Regions from separate parts of the Homo sapiens genome. Here regions 1, 3 and 4 are each linked to region 2. Evidence: promoter capture Hi-C in 16 types of primary human blood cells and fetal thymus (Javierre and others, 2016). All regions are on one chromosome and are shown on one strand. The core of a region is centred on a gene start or on the middle of the fragment in contact, and the rest is flanking DNA. Distances in the headings are between cores, read along the strand shown. Region 1 overlaps CAB39 (calcium binding protein 39). Region 2 holds the start of PSMD1 (proteasome 26S subunit, non-ATPase 1). Region 3 overlaps GCSIR (GPR55 cis regulatory suppressor of immune response RNA). Region 4 has its middle 18 kb from the start of ITM2C.

The links. Contacts are between HindIII fragments. The CHiCAGO score rates a contact against its expected background, and 5 or more counts as called.
Region 1: a contact is called between a fragment that was not itself captured here and the fragment with the promoter of PSMD1 in region 2, in 3 of 17 cell types (naive CD8 T cells, fetal thymus and endothelial precursors). The highest score is 8.1, in naive CD8 T cells.
Region 3: a fragment that was not itself captured here is called in contact with the fragment with the promoter of PSMD1 in region 2 in 1 of 17 cell types (M1 macrophages); the score reaches 5.4 in M1 macrophages.
Region 4: a contact is called between a fragment that was not itself captured here and the fragment with the promoter of PSMD1 in region 2, in 1 of 17 cell types (fetal thymus). The highest score is 5.9, in fetal thymus.

Annotation. Positions count from the first base shown.
Region 1 is chr2:230,819,008-230,821,932 of GRCh38, reverse strand. It overlaps CAB39 (calcium binding protein 39), which reads right to left. Exons shown (of 9, transcript NM_016289.4): 9 at 858-2,925. Among named protein-coding and RNA genes, the nearest start is that of ITM2C, 44 kb to the left of the region's middle. The HindIII fragment of the contact is 3,617 bases long and covers 1-2,925 here.
Region 2 is chr2:231,055,589-231,058,288 of GRCh38, reverse strand. PSMD1 (proteasome 26S subunit, non-ATPase 1) reads right to left here and starts at 1,422. Exons shown (of 25, transcript NM_002807.4): 1 at 1,248-1,422. The coding sequence starts at 1,263. LOC112268432 (a long non-coding RNA gene) reads left to right here and starts at 543. Exons shown (of 2, transcript XR_002959456.2): 1 at 543-952. RefSeq lists a silencer at 1,332-1,521. The HindIII fragment of the contact is 9,212 bases long and covers 1-2,700 here.
Region 3 is chr2:230,897,039-230,899,738 of GRCh38, reverse strand. It overlaps GCSIR (GPR55 cis regulatory suppressor of immune response RNA), which reads right to left. Exons shown (of 4, transcript NR_038238.1): 3 at 2,649-2,700. Among named protein-coding and RNA genes, the nearest start is that of GCSIR, 12 kb to the right of the region's middle. The HindIII fragment of the contact is 2,050 bases long and covers 387-2,436 here.
Region 4 is chr2:230,845,918-230,848,617 of GRCh38, reverse strand. No RefSeq gene overlaps it. Among named protein-coding and RNA genes, the nearest start is that of ITM2C, 18 kb to the left of the region's middle. The HindIII fragment of the contact is 2,087 bases long and covers 247-2,333 here.

The sequences.
Region 1 (2,925 bases), core at 178-2,677, 240 kb after region 2:
GCAGCCTCAGAGCACTTCCCGATCAGGACCTTGTTGGAGCCTAACTAGGAAGGCTGGGTGAGAACTGCACTACTCCTGAGCTGCCTGAAGTGCAACGTTCTGGAGCTTCTTTGGCAAGGGGAGGAGGGCATTTGATGGGGGATTGTGGTAGGAAGTGGAATTTGAGCTGAAGCGTGAATCCAGTCCTCAGCCTGGTGATCCTTATAAGTGGCCAAGTCACAAGTTATGACTTAATGGGCCCTTGTCACCTTTGGGGAACTACAACGTACAAGTAGACTGAACTACTTGACAGAAATAACAAATAGGACATTGTTATTCGGATGAAGTGTTTTTGGCAAGAGCATGTCCCTTGCCTTCACTCCAGAGAATAAGATTTCATTTACTGACAGGGGTTAAAGTCGAGGGCAGGGCTGTGAACTAAGGATTACGAGGCACCCTGGAAGGCAGACGAGGGACATTCTTTACGGTGCCAGAGTTCTTGTGCCTGCTTCCACGGTCCCCTCGCCTTCATGATCATTTCACATCAGTAACCTGTGAATACTCCGGGCCGAGTGTTCTAGTTTAGCCTCGCGGTGTTGCTAACAGCGCAAGAGAGGATCTACTCCTCAAACGTTAGGGTCTAAGAAATGGTACCATTAAAAGGTGTGATTTTACTCAGGAAGGGTAAGGAAAACATGAGCACGGGGGCGGTGGGGGGGAAGTGAAGCCCCTGAACAGGGAAAAAGGCAGACAGGAATGGGTGTTAACTGTCCCTCCACTTTCAGTTGGTGATAAAATTCGGGCTTGTGTGTCTCCTGATGAAGCTGTTCACAGTAACACAAATGCAACTGTCTATAACACATCATAAAGACAGACAATGCTGTTTCTCCAAAATTTTATTTTAATTTAAATTACAGGGCCAGCCAGATATTCTGATAAGAAATTCACTTTTCCTTAGGAGAAAGAAAATGCTTTCATGGCATTGTTAACAAATGTATACATCTCCACTTTTTTAAGGGTTAAAAATCACATTAAGTAACTGCCTTATGTAAAATTAAACCTTTATAACACAAAAACCACTTCCAGTATAATAGTCTTGGTAATATGAATATATTAAATGATCATAACTTCAAATGCAACATTTCAAACTTAAATGTTTTCACATTGTTTTGCTTAAAAACAAAACCCACGAAGTCTGAACTACCTTCAGATTCCAATGTAAGAGTAACATGAATGTTGTGTCTGACACGCTGCACCCTCACTTCTTCCACCTAAAAGGCTACGACCTCACTGCCAAAGTGGAAGCTGTTCTAGATGTGTAAGTTCTAAGAATGAGCTTGGCAAGAAGACGTTTCTTCCACTTGGTGTAATCCATGTTTTTACACTAACTCCATACACACAGCACTACACCACAAAGCCAGGACACCACATCACGGCCAAGTCTTCCTTCCTAAACATCCAAGAGATTTTTTTTTCAAGGAGACTAGATTGCCTTATTTCACACAGATTCTGGTAAAGACAGTCTTGAGAAATGCCAATTATGATGTAGACTGCCATTTTAATAAAAATAAAATATATCTATATTTTCTGGAGCTATTTTCCTAACTGGTGTTCCTGAAGGTTTAAAACCTGCTGAAACAGCAATTGGGAGGCCCATTTTACTGGCCAGTATATAATTCCATTAGTAAGAGAGGCTAGCAAAGAATAATCATATCAATTTCTTAATCAGCTGCAGCCATGCTGAATTTGAACTGGCAAACTCTGATTTGTCAGTTGTTAGTTGTGATCTTCATATCACTAAAATGAACAGATACCATTCTAATAACTTTACATAGATATAGTCTAGAAGACATTGTTCTGCCGTGGTCACAGTAACAAAAAAGTGGTGCAAAATCAGTTACTTTATAAATACTGATAATTTGCAGCATTAAGGAACAGGACATTAAAAAAAATAAATTTCCCCATAGGACACCTATGACTAGGAAGTCGTCTTTTCCTAAGAGAAGCCAAAGTTTTAATTATTCAGTTCACAACTATTGTACTGGGTTACTTAGTCTAAGAAAGAAAAGGTGCTCTACAGAGATTTCCCACACACACAAAGAATCAGCATTAATTTAGCATAATCTCTATCATTCACAGATCTGGCAGATTCATTAACTCATTTAAAATGAATAAGGCCAATAGGATGCAGGAAGGTGTGGCTGACTGAGCTCCAGGGCTGTATCGCAGCTTATTGATGGCACCCCATTAGGTAACTGAATACAAAGGACTGGTTTACTTTCTTTTTCTTTTAATGCTGTGATACTTAAATGTTAAATCAGCATTTTCATGTGATCTGAAGTATTTCAATTACATATGAGCATTCATTGTTTTTTGCAAAAACTCAGTATTAGGTAATAGTTACATACTACTACAATAACATTCCTCTGCTGTACAAATTAAACCATTTAAAAGAAATGAGCATTCTAAGAATTATATACAAAAGAAACCTTGAAGCAGTGTTGAAATGAAATGCAAGGTGTCATTGCTAGCTCTACTGTTTTAAAGTATCTTTGAAAAGTAAAATTAACAAATACCCTTCAACATATCCAGGTTTACAAGTCTCAAGAAAATCAAATGTCAAAAAATTCTAGAAAGCTGTGAAAAGCATATATACATTTTCCTTATGATCTTATGAGGCTTCTTTACACTTTTAAGAAGTTGCTAAGTTTCAGTATCAATTTATTCGCATGTCAACTTTAGCTGCCCCCAAACTCCCATTTTGGATAGCTCCCCTCTGATTTCAGATAAAGCTCTGCGTCATCTTCCTTCAGCGAAGGTGCGCGACCTGAAGGTGCGCGATCTGACGCAGGGATGCCAGGTGTGCACTTGCCACACTGCACTCAGATCGCCAACAAAGATGGGTGCAAACACATAGGTCTAATCTGATATCAGTGCCCTCTTTCC
Region 2 (2,700 bases), core at 173-2,672:
ATGAAGGTGGTTTGGGCCGAGTTAGAAGAAACATTGGTAATGGATGGATTTGAAATAGAATGAGGCCTATAGGTGGCAAGAAACTGAGTGTTTATTTGATCTTTACAAAGCTCTGACTGGAAAAACTTCCTGATACTGAACTAAAATTCATCTCGCGATCACTTGTATCTCTTGGGGACAAAAAGTCTTATTTCAGGTACAAGTGACAGCTCTTCAAATGTTTGAAAGTAACTACGTCTCCCAGTATCTCCAACGATCTCCTTAACCAATCCTCATAAAAATAAAGTTTTGATCGCCTTACCATTCAGATTACTGTCTTCTGCTCACCAGTTTGTTTACAATAAAATGCTTTCTTTGTGGGTCAAACACAGAGTAAGAAAATGAGAAAAGGGTATGTAAATAGGCAACGGAAAAAAGCACCAAGGCTCTGGACAGCTATATGCAAGTCAATCTGTAACGGGGAGCTTAAGTCTCCAATTGAAACTTGATCTCTGTAACTTACTCCATTGCAAATGTCACTACGTGAATCTACCTATGCAATGGTTTGCGCGTATGAAACCTGCTCCGCAGATCCATCCATTCTTTCTTGAATGTACAGTCAACAGACTGAGCACATAACCTCGAAAGGGTATAAGTAGGCTCTCAGTATAAAGGTATCTCCAGGGCGTCTTTAGGGTCTTCGCCGAACCCAAAAGTTCTCTGGGTGTTTTGAATGAACACCCTTGGATCGGACCCAGAAATGACCCACCTCAAACCTAATTTCGGGTTTCATTCTAAGGCGAATGGAGCTCGGCCACGTCCAGAAACACTTCTGTAGCAGTTAGGCTGCCCGATCAGGGGGGTTTGCCTTACTGTTCAATGGCACAGGGGCCCATCCCACCCCGGCCCCCTGCGGGCAAGAACTGGGGCTGGACGACCTCACACGGCCAAGAATGGGAGGCACAGAAAAAAGGTAAGCCCTTCTGGGGTCAGGGGAAGGCCCAGGAAGCCCCTCGGGTCCTGGCGCTGGGGTGTGATTGGGGAGGGATGCCGAGGCGGTCGACCCGGCTCGATTCCCTCAAGCCAGAGAAGCACGCAGTGACCTGATCAGACTCCCAGCCCCCCGGCCCGGGGGTGGGCCCTGGGCAGCAAGAAGCTGCCCAGGCCGGCGTTCCGCCGGGAGGCGCCCAGTCACCGGCCCTGACTCAGCTAAAAGCCGGCGCGGCGGCGGCTCCTCCCTCCAGGCGCTGGCTACGGGCCGCACTCACCGGCCGAGGTGATCATGGCTGCGCCCCTCACTCGCCCGTCGGCTCGCTCGCCGTTCCAGCTGCGCAGTGTATCTGTCAGCTCAGGGGCCGCTCAGTTCACCGCGCCTCCTTGCTCCCCGGGTGCGCTGCTCAGTCAGTCGCCTCCTCAGGCCGCCGGCTCGCTTCTCGCCAGGACCCCGCCCGCCCAGGGGCTGCCCGCCACCCCGCCTGCCGCCCGGCGCGAATTCTCCCCTGGCCTGCGTCTTCTGCGCGGCGGTATACTCCCCAGCCCTCGCGGAAGGGTACACAGAGAACACCATTGTTTTCTCTAAACCTCCTCGAGGTCAGGAGTCCCGCGCAACGGAACACTGGTCTGCACCTGAGGTCAGGCATTAGAATGGCCAGCCCTGCAAAGAGAGGACCCCCACCATCACCCGCCATTGCTGAGAGAAAGGGTGTTGAGGGGAGGTGCGAGCATTGCGCGCAGTGCCACCTACTGGTGGGAGGTCTCGCTGCAACACATCTCCCACCAGATAATGCTTAGGGAATTGGGGCTGCCGCAAACAGCGTTTTTTTTTGTTTTTTGTTTTTTTTCCCAGAAAAGTGGCTTTCAATTGTTTTCTAAAGCAAAACCTATCATAAAAAAAAGAAAATCCCCATAGAAGTGCTTTATTATCATAATGAATCCACAAGTAATCATTGGCTTATTATAAAGTTGAACAATGAAGGTTTTTACTTACTTTTGGAAAAATGTCCAGTGTTGTCAATATATTAAAATGTGCAGTAGTTATATGGCGAAAGCCTTTCCAAGGGAGAAAAAATGTCTTCCATTCTTTCCTTCTATCTGCCCAGGTCCTCTTTCCCCCGACGGCAGTGGGTTCTTCGTTTCTAATACATCTTCAGAAATTTGAAATGGCAGTTGCAATGGCCATTTGCAGTCTTATGCTAGCTTCAAGAAGTCAATTTATTTCAAGAGTCAGTACTGAGAAAGTCTTGACAAGGAATAGGGCAAACGGTAGCATTTTTTTCAGCCACCGGCCTTGCACTATCAAGCTAAACTCTTCAATCGCACAGCGATGGCGAGTTCATTTCTACGGCCTTCTACGTAACCTAGGGGCACAATCAATGTCTTGTGGTTGCCAGTGAATTAAATGTGCTTGATAACACATTTTGTTGTATCTGTGACTTTTTTTGTTTAAATTAGAATTCTTAAACTGTGGTTGTTTAAAATATATTAAATATAATTATTGAACATTTTTGAAGAGCCTGTGGCTCAGATTGAAAGGCAGGGCTCGAGAAGATGTGCATGCAAAGTAAACAGATTACTTGGGGTGTCATTCTACAGAGGTACTTCTTTTTTTTTTTTTTTGAGATGGAGTGTCCCTCTGCCACCCAGGCTGTAGGGCAATGGCGCGATCTCGGCTCACTGCAACCTCCGCCTCCTGGGTTCAAGCGATTCTCCTGCTCAGTCTCC
Region 3 (2,700 bases), core at 162-2,661, 160 kb after region 2:
CCCACTGGGAAATGCCGTATACTCAGGGGTGCCCTGGGTTTGGGCATAGATGATGTACACCCCTAGTTCCTGGTGAAACCCAGGTCTGGGTGAATGGAGCAAATCCAGATCCTTCTAATGGGATAGGGAAGCAGACTGGCTCCTGTTCCCTGTCACTGAGTGATCCAAAGGACCAAGGCCAGGGACCCTTGCACCAAACCGTGCTGTCAGATTCTGTCTGCCAGCGGGGGAGCCCAGGGAAGCCCAGGGCCGCTGCAGTCACCTCCAGGCAGTGCACGTTGCTCAGCAACCTCTTTGCAACTGTGAGCTGCTCCACATCCCTGCGAAGAGCCTTCTTTTGCTTGAATTAGCTGGAGCTGGTTTCTCTTGCAGGGAACAAAGAAGCTTCCTGTTAGCAAAATGAAGTTTCCTGCTTCAGCAAGAGAAAGGCTCCTTATGGGGAGATGGGAGAGGGGAGTGGGAAGACAGAGGCCCTGGGTATGGGTGCTTGGAGATTCTCTCTTTCCTGGGGGTGAAGGGGAAAGGGAGAGGGAGATTGTATGGCCAGACCTCTTCCACAGCCTTAAAACAGGGATGTAAGCCCTTTTGACAATTTCACTTGAATTCCTTGGGAAATACCAGGTTAGGGTGTTTTCTTGGATGAAAACTCGGGTGGTGCAGGCAGCAAAGCCCATCATCGACGGCCCCAGGGAGCCACGTGCAGATTCTTCCCTTTCCTGCAGTGTGCCCTGGCCTGCAAGGCCCTGTCTAAGGACGCTGGGGTGGACTGAGGCTGCCACAGGAGGGCATGGAGGGTATGGAGGAAAAGGAAAGCTGCTTGATTCATCGGCATCTGACAAAGTGTTCTGTCTACACCATGCCTGCTGCACGAGGCACCTGGTCAGATGTTGGCCCTTGCTGCCCACTAAAGGTCAAAGAGGTGATGGGGATCCCCCTTCCCCACATCATCCCAGGAATTCTCTGACTGTCCTTGGGTCTCTCTGGGAAGACTTCTCGGAGCCCCTGGCCCCAGCTGGGGGTCCCTCCTCTGTGATCCCATGGCACCCTAACTTTCCACAAGGAACTGGGGTGAGTGAGGGTCTCTTGAGTGCAGGGAGCTCATTCAGGTTTATTATGGAAGCTGGGTGACAGTGATGGTTGCATGGTTGCACAACTTTATAAATTTTCTAAAAATTACTGAATTGTTAAACAAGAAAGAAGGAAGCAAAAGCTGTTTTGTTGAAGGATGTACATGGAAATAAAGAAGACAGGACTCTCAGCTCCGTGCAAGCCTGCCCGGGTCCCAGGACAGGCTCACAGCAAGACCTCCCGGGAGGTCCCCATGGGGCCTGGAACACGGCTCAGGTTTGGAAGGGCTTGAGGGTCCAGGGAAGTCTATTGGCTCTGCTCTATCCTTCCTGCCTTTCGGTCTCTGTCTCCTACCACCGTTGTCCCAGCTGGCGGCCACTATCTCTGCTGGCCTCTCCACCCGTGTCCATCACTGGCAGCCTGAGGATGGGCTACCTGTGAATCACGTGCTCCTCCCTGGTCCAGTCAACCACGGCGGAGGAGATGGGGCCATGTGAGATGCCGCCTATGGGGCCGCCTGGAGCTGCTACCTTCAGCAGGGGCCTGGCAGGTGCTCTGAGGCTTTGTGTGTTTTTCTCCACCTCTGTGCCAGGAGGCTGCTGCCCTTCAAGTCTTGTGGGGACACAGTCATGTCCATTCACACTGTCTGCAGTGGCTGCTTTGGAGCTACAGCAGACCACGGTAGTTATGACAGAGACTGTATGGTTTGTAAAACTGAAAACACTTGTAATCTAGCCCTTTGCAAAAAATTTCCCTAATGCCTGCTCTGAACTATAAACTCTTCAGGGAAGGGACTAGGTCTTGTTCATCTCTGGATCTTCAGAACTTAGCAGAGTGTCAGACACATAGTAGAAGCTCAATAAATTGTAGGAGCTCAATTAAATAGATAAATAGATGGAGTCTGGGCTGAATCTGTGCAGTCTATGTCCTTTACTTTAAAAAGAGGCTTCCCGGCCGGGTGCAGTGACTCACACCTGTAAGCACTTTGGGAGGCCAAGGTGGTAGGATCGCGTGAGCTCAGGAGTTTGAGACCAGCCTGGGCAATGTAGTGAGACCTTGTCTCTATTAAAAATAATAATAATAATAATAATAACTGGGTGTGGTGGTGTGCTTGTCATCCCAGCTACTTGGGGGGCTGAGGTGGGAGGATTGCATGAGCTCGGGAGGTTGAGGCTGCAATGAGCTGTGATCCTGCCACTGGACCCCAACCTGGGTGACAGAGCGAGACCCTGTCTCAGAAGGGAAATAAATAAAAGGGGGCTTCTCCTAGACAACACTCTCCTCCTGCTCCTGCTCATTGAACAAGGTGACCAAATGTCCCAGTCTGTCCAGGACTGAGGGAGACCAAGGCTACTCAGTGTTAAAGCTTGGAAAGTTCCAGGCAAACTGGGATAATGTGGTTCCTTATATTGGATACCTGGCCTCTCTATATGTTGAAGCAGCTGCCTACCTCATTTGGGCAATGAATCCACTGTAGTTAGCCAGGTAGAACCATGTGTGCCTAGTAGAAATAGGAATACACATAATCAGCTGCATAACAGATTCAAACAACATAACAGTGTAAAGGAGCAAGGCAGTACCTGGTGGTAGCAGTTGTGCTGAGGATTCTGGGTGTTACCAGTGAAGCGGGTA
Region 4 (2,700 bases), core at 41-2,540, 210 kb after region 2:
TAAACAAACATCAAAATTGTTGGTCATCACTACTTTTTTTTTTTTTTTAATGATCTTGACTATTGCAATGTGTTGGCTTTTCAAGACAAATTTTAGAATGGTTTGCTACTTGTTTGCAAAAACCTGTTGGGATTTAAATTGGATTTGCTTTAATTTTGGGGAGAATCAGCATTTTCATAATCTTCCCATCCAAGAATGTGGTTTGTCTCTCCATTTACTTTAAGCTTTATGGTCCGTAGTAAAGCTTTGTGCCTTTCTTTAGGTAGATTATAAATTTCTTCCTAGGAATTCTGTATTTGTAGTTGCTGCGAAGGGAATGTTTTTGCAGCCAGCCTTCTTCCTGGGAACTCCGTCGCGGGCCGGACCTCTCTTCCCGCGGTTGGGAGAACCTGCAGAGGGCAAGAGGCACGTTCGCGGACCGCAGGCCTGGAGGTGGTGGCGCCTAGCTGAGGGCCCTTGAGGCCTCCGGGAGTCCCCGCCGGGCCTCGCTCGGGGCGAAGACCTCGAGAGAAACTGGGTTCCGGCGGCGCCCCCTTGTGGCAGTCTGCAGGGCCGCGCTTCTGCTACTGTTGAGTTCCACCCCGAACTCCCCTCCTCCGCCTTCCTTCCCGGCTACAAGTTTGAGTCACCGCCCAGAAGGAAGGCAAATGATTTTTAACCACTTTAGACTCAGAAAAAGACAAATACAGTTTGGAAGGTGAATATGAAAAAGTCACTTGAGGCCGGGCGCGGTGGCTCAGCACTCTGGGAGGTAATCCCGGCACTTTGGGAGGCTGAGGCGGGTGGATCACTTGAGGTCAGCAGTTCGAGACCAGCTTGGCCAACATGGTGAAACCTCGTCTCCACTAAAAATACAAAAATTAGCCGGGTATGGTGGTGCATGCCTGTAATCCCGGCTACTCAGGAGGCTGAGGTGAGAGGGTCACTCAAACCTGGGAGGCAGAGGTTGCAATGAGCTGAGATCTCACCACTGCGCTCCAGCCTGGGTGGCGGAGTAAGACCCTGTCTCAAAAAAAAAAAAAAAAGTCACCTGAAAGTCACACTTACTCTTAAAAGTGCAGCAGCGTCTTATTCATTCATTCAATGCCTATTGATTGAGCGAGGTGTCTCATGCACCAGGCTGTGGGGATTCAGGCTTGAACCAAGATAGACAAGGGCCCTACTATTCCCTTTCGTCTATGTTCTAAAGAAAGGAGACAGGCAATAAGCAAGTAAATAAGTGTGATTATTTCCAAGAGTAAGTGCTTTGAAGAAAATAAAACAGTGACGTAAGAGGAATGAAGGGTGGGGGGTGGCCAGCATTGGCTAGGGTAGTCAGGGTGGGCTTTTCTGGGGAGGCATCGTTGAAGTGATGAGCTGATGAACAGGAGTCAGCCGGGGCAAGACGGGTCTACTAGAGATCACCCACTCTTGTCAAATCCAGAGTCTATTTGTTGTAGAAGTGGAAACTCAATCAGGAAAAACTGTAGCACATGCATCTGGTTACCTTGTCTGTTCTTTCATATTCATGTTTCACAACGCAGTTGTGTTTCACCCACAAGATTAAAGTTCAGGTTCATCCACAGGGATAAGGGCATGTGGGTCCCCCTAGCAGTTTGTACTTGTTTAGGGAGTGTGGACCTCTTTGGCCTGGGTATGGGAGGCATTTCTTTTTAGAACTTGAGCTGTCTTTTGGGCTATGCTTAAGGACATTTTTTCATCTGTAATTATTGTTGTCAATAAAAAAGTTAAGTCTAGGAATTGGTGACAGTTTAATGGGCTAAATTGTACCCCTATCCTCAATTCATATGTTGAAGTCTTAATCTCCAATACCTCAGAATGGGACTGTATTTGGAGATAGGGTCTTTAAAGAGGTAATTAAATTAAAATGAGGTCATTAGAGTGGGTCCTAATCCAGTGCTGGCCACCCCCCCGCCCCCTTCATTCCTTTTACATCACTGTCCTTATAAGAAGAGGAGATTCGGACACAGACACACACAAAAGGGGGACCACGAGACCCCTTGGGAGAAGATGGCATCTACAAGCCAGGGAGAGAGGCCTCTGGAGAAACCAACCCTGCAGACACCTTGGTCTTGGACTTCCAGCCACCCAGTCCGCGGTACTTTGTTACGGCAACCTTAGCAAACTAACACACTTAGATAATGTGATCCTTAGAATGAAATTAAGAAAAATCAAAGTATAATGGTTGAAAGGAATGACCCACTCTAAGACATTATTTGTAAATAGGCCTTAGGCAAGCTGAGGCCTAACTAGTCATGCTGTACCTGGTGTGAGGAAAGAATGTGTTCAGAGGAGGTAGAACAGGGAGCTCAAAGGATAGGGACTTGAAAGCTTTCAAAAACTCATTCATTTAACCAACAGTGTAATAAGCACCAGCTGCTTGCTAAGGGGTGGAGGTGAATCAAGCCCAAGGAAGGGACACATGAAGTTCAGAGCGAACTAAACAACAAATCGAGTCTGCAGGTCTGGGGAAAGTCATTGCGTATTTCCATCATCTGCTGAAATAGTCCTTGAGACACCCCCTCCACTGTGCTGCCTGCTGCCCTGTCGGATGCCTACTAGACAACCTTTTGGTTTCTAATTTCGCTTGACTTAGGAGAAGGGTGTTCACCACCCACCTGAAGTTTCATTTAATGAGCACCTACTGTGTGCCAGGCACTGGAAATAACAGTGAGGGATTGACCGGGTCCCTGCTTTTAG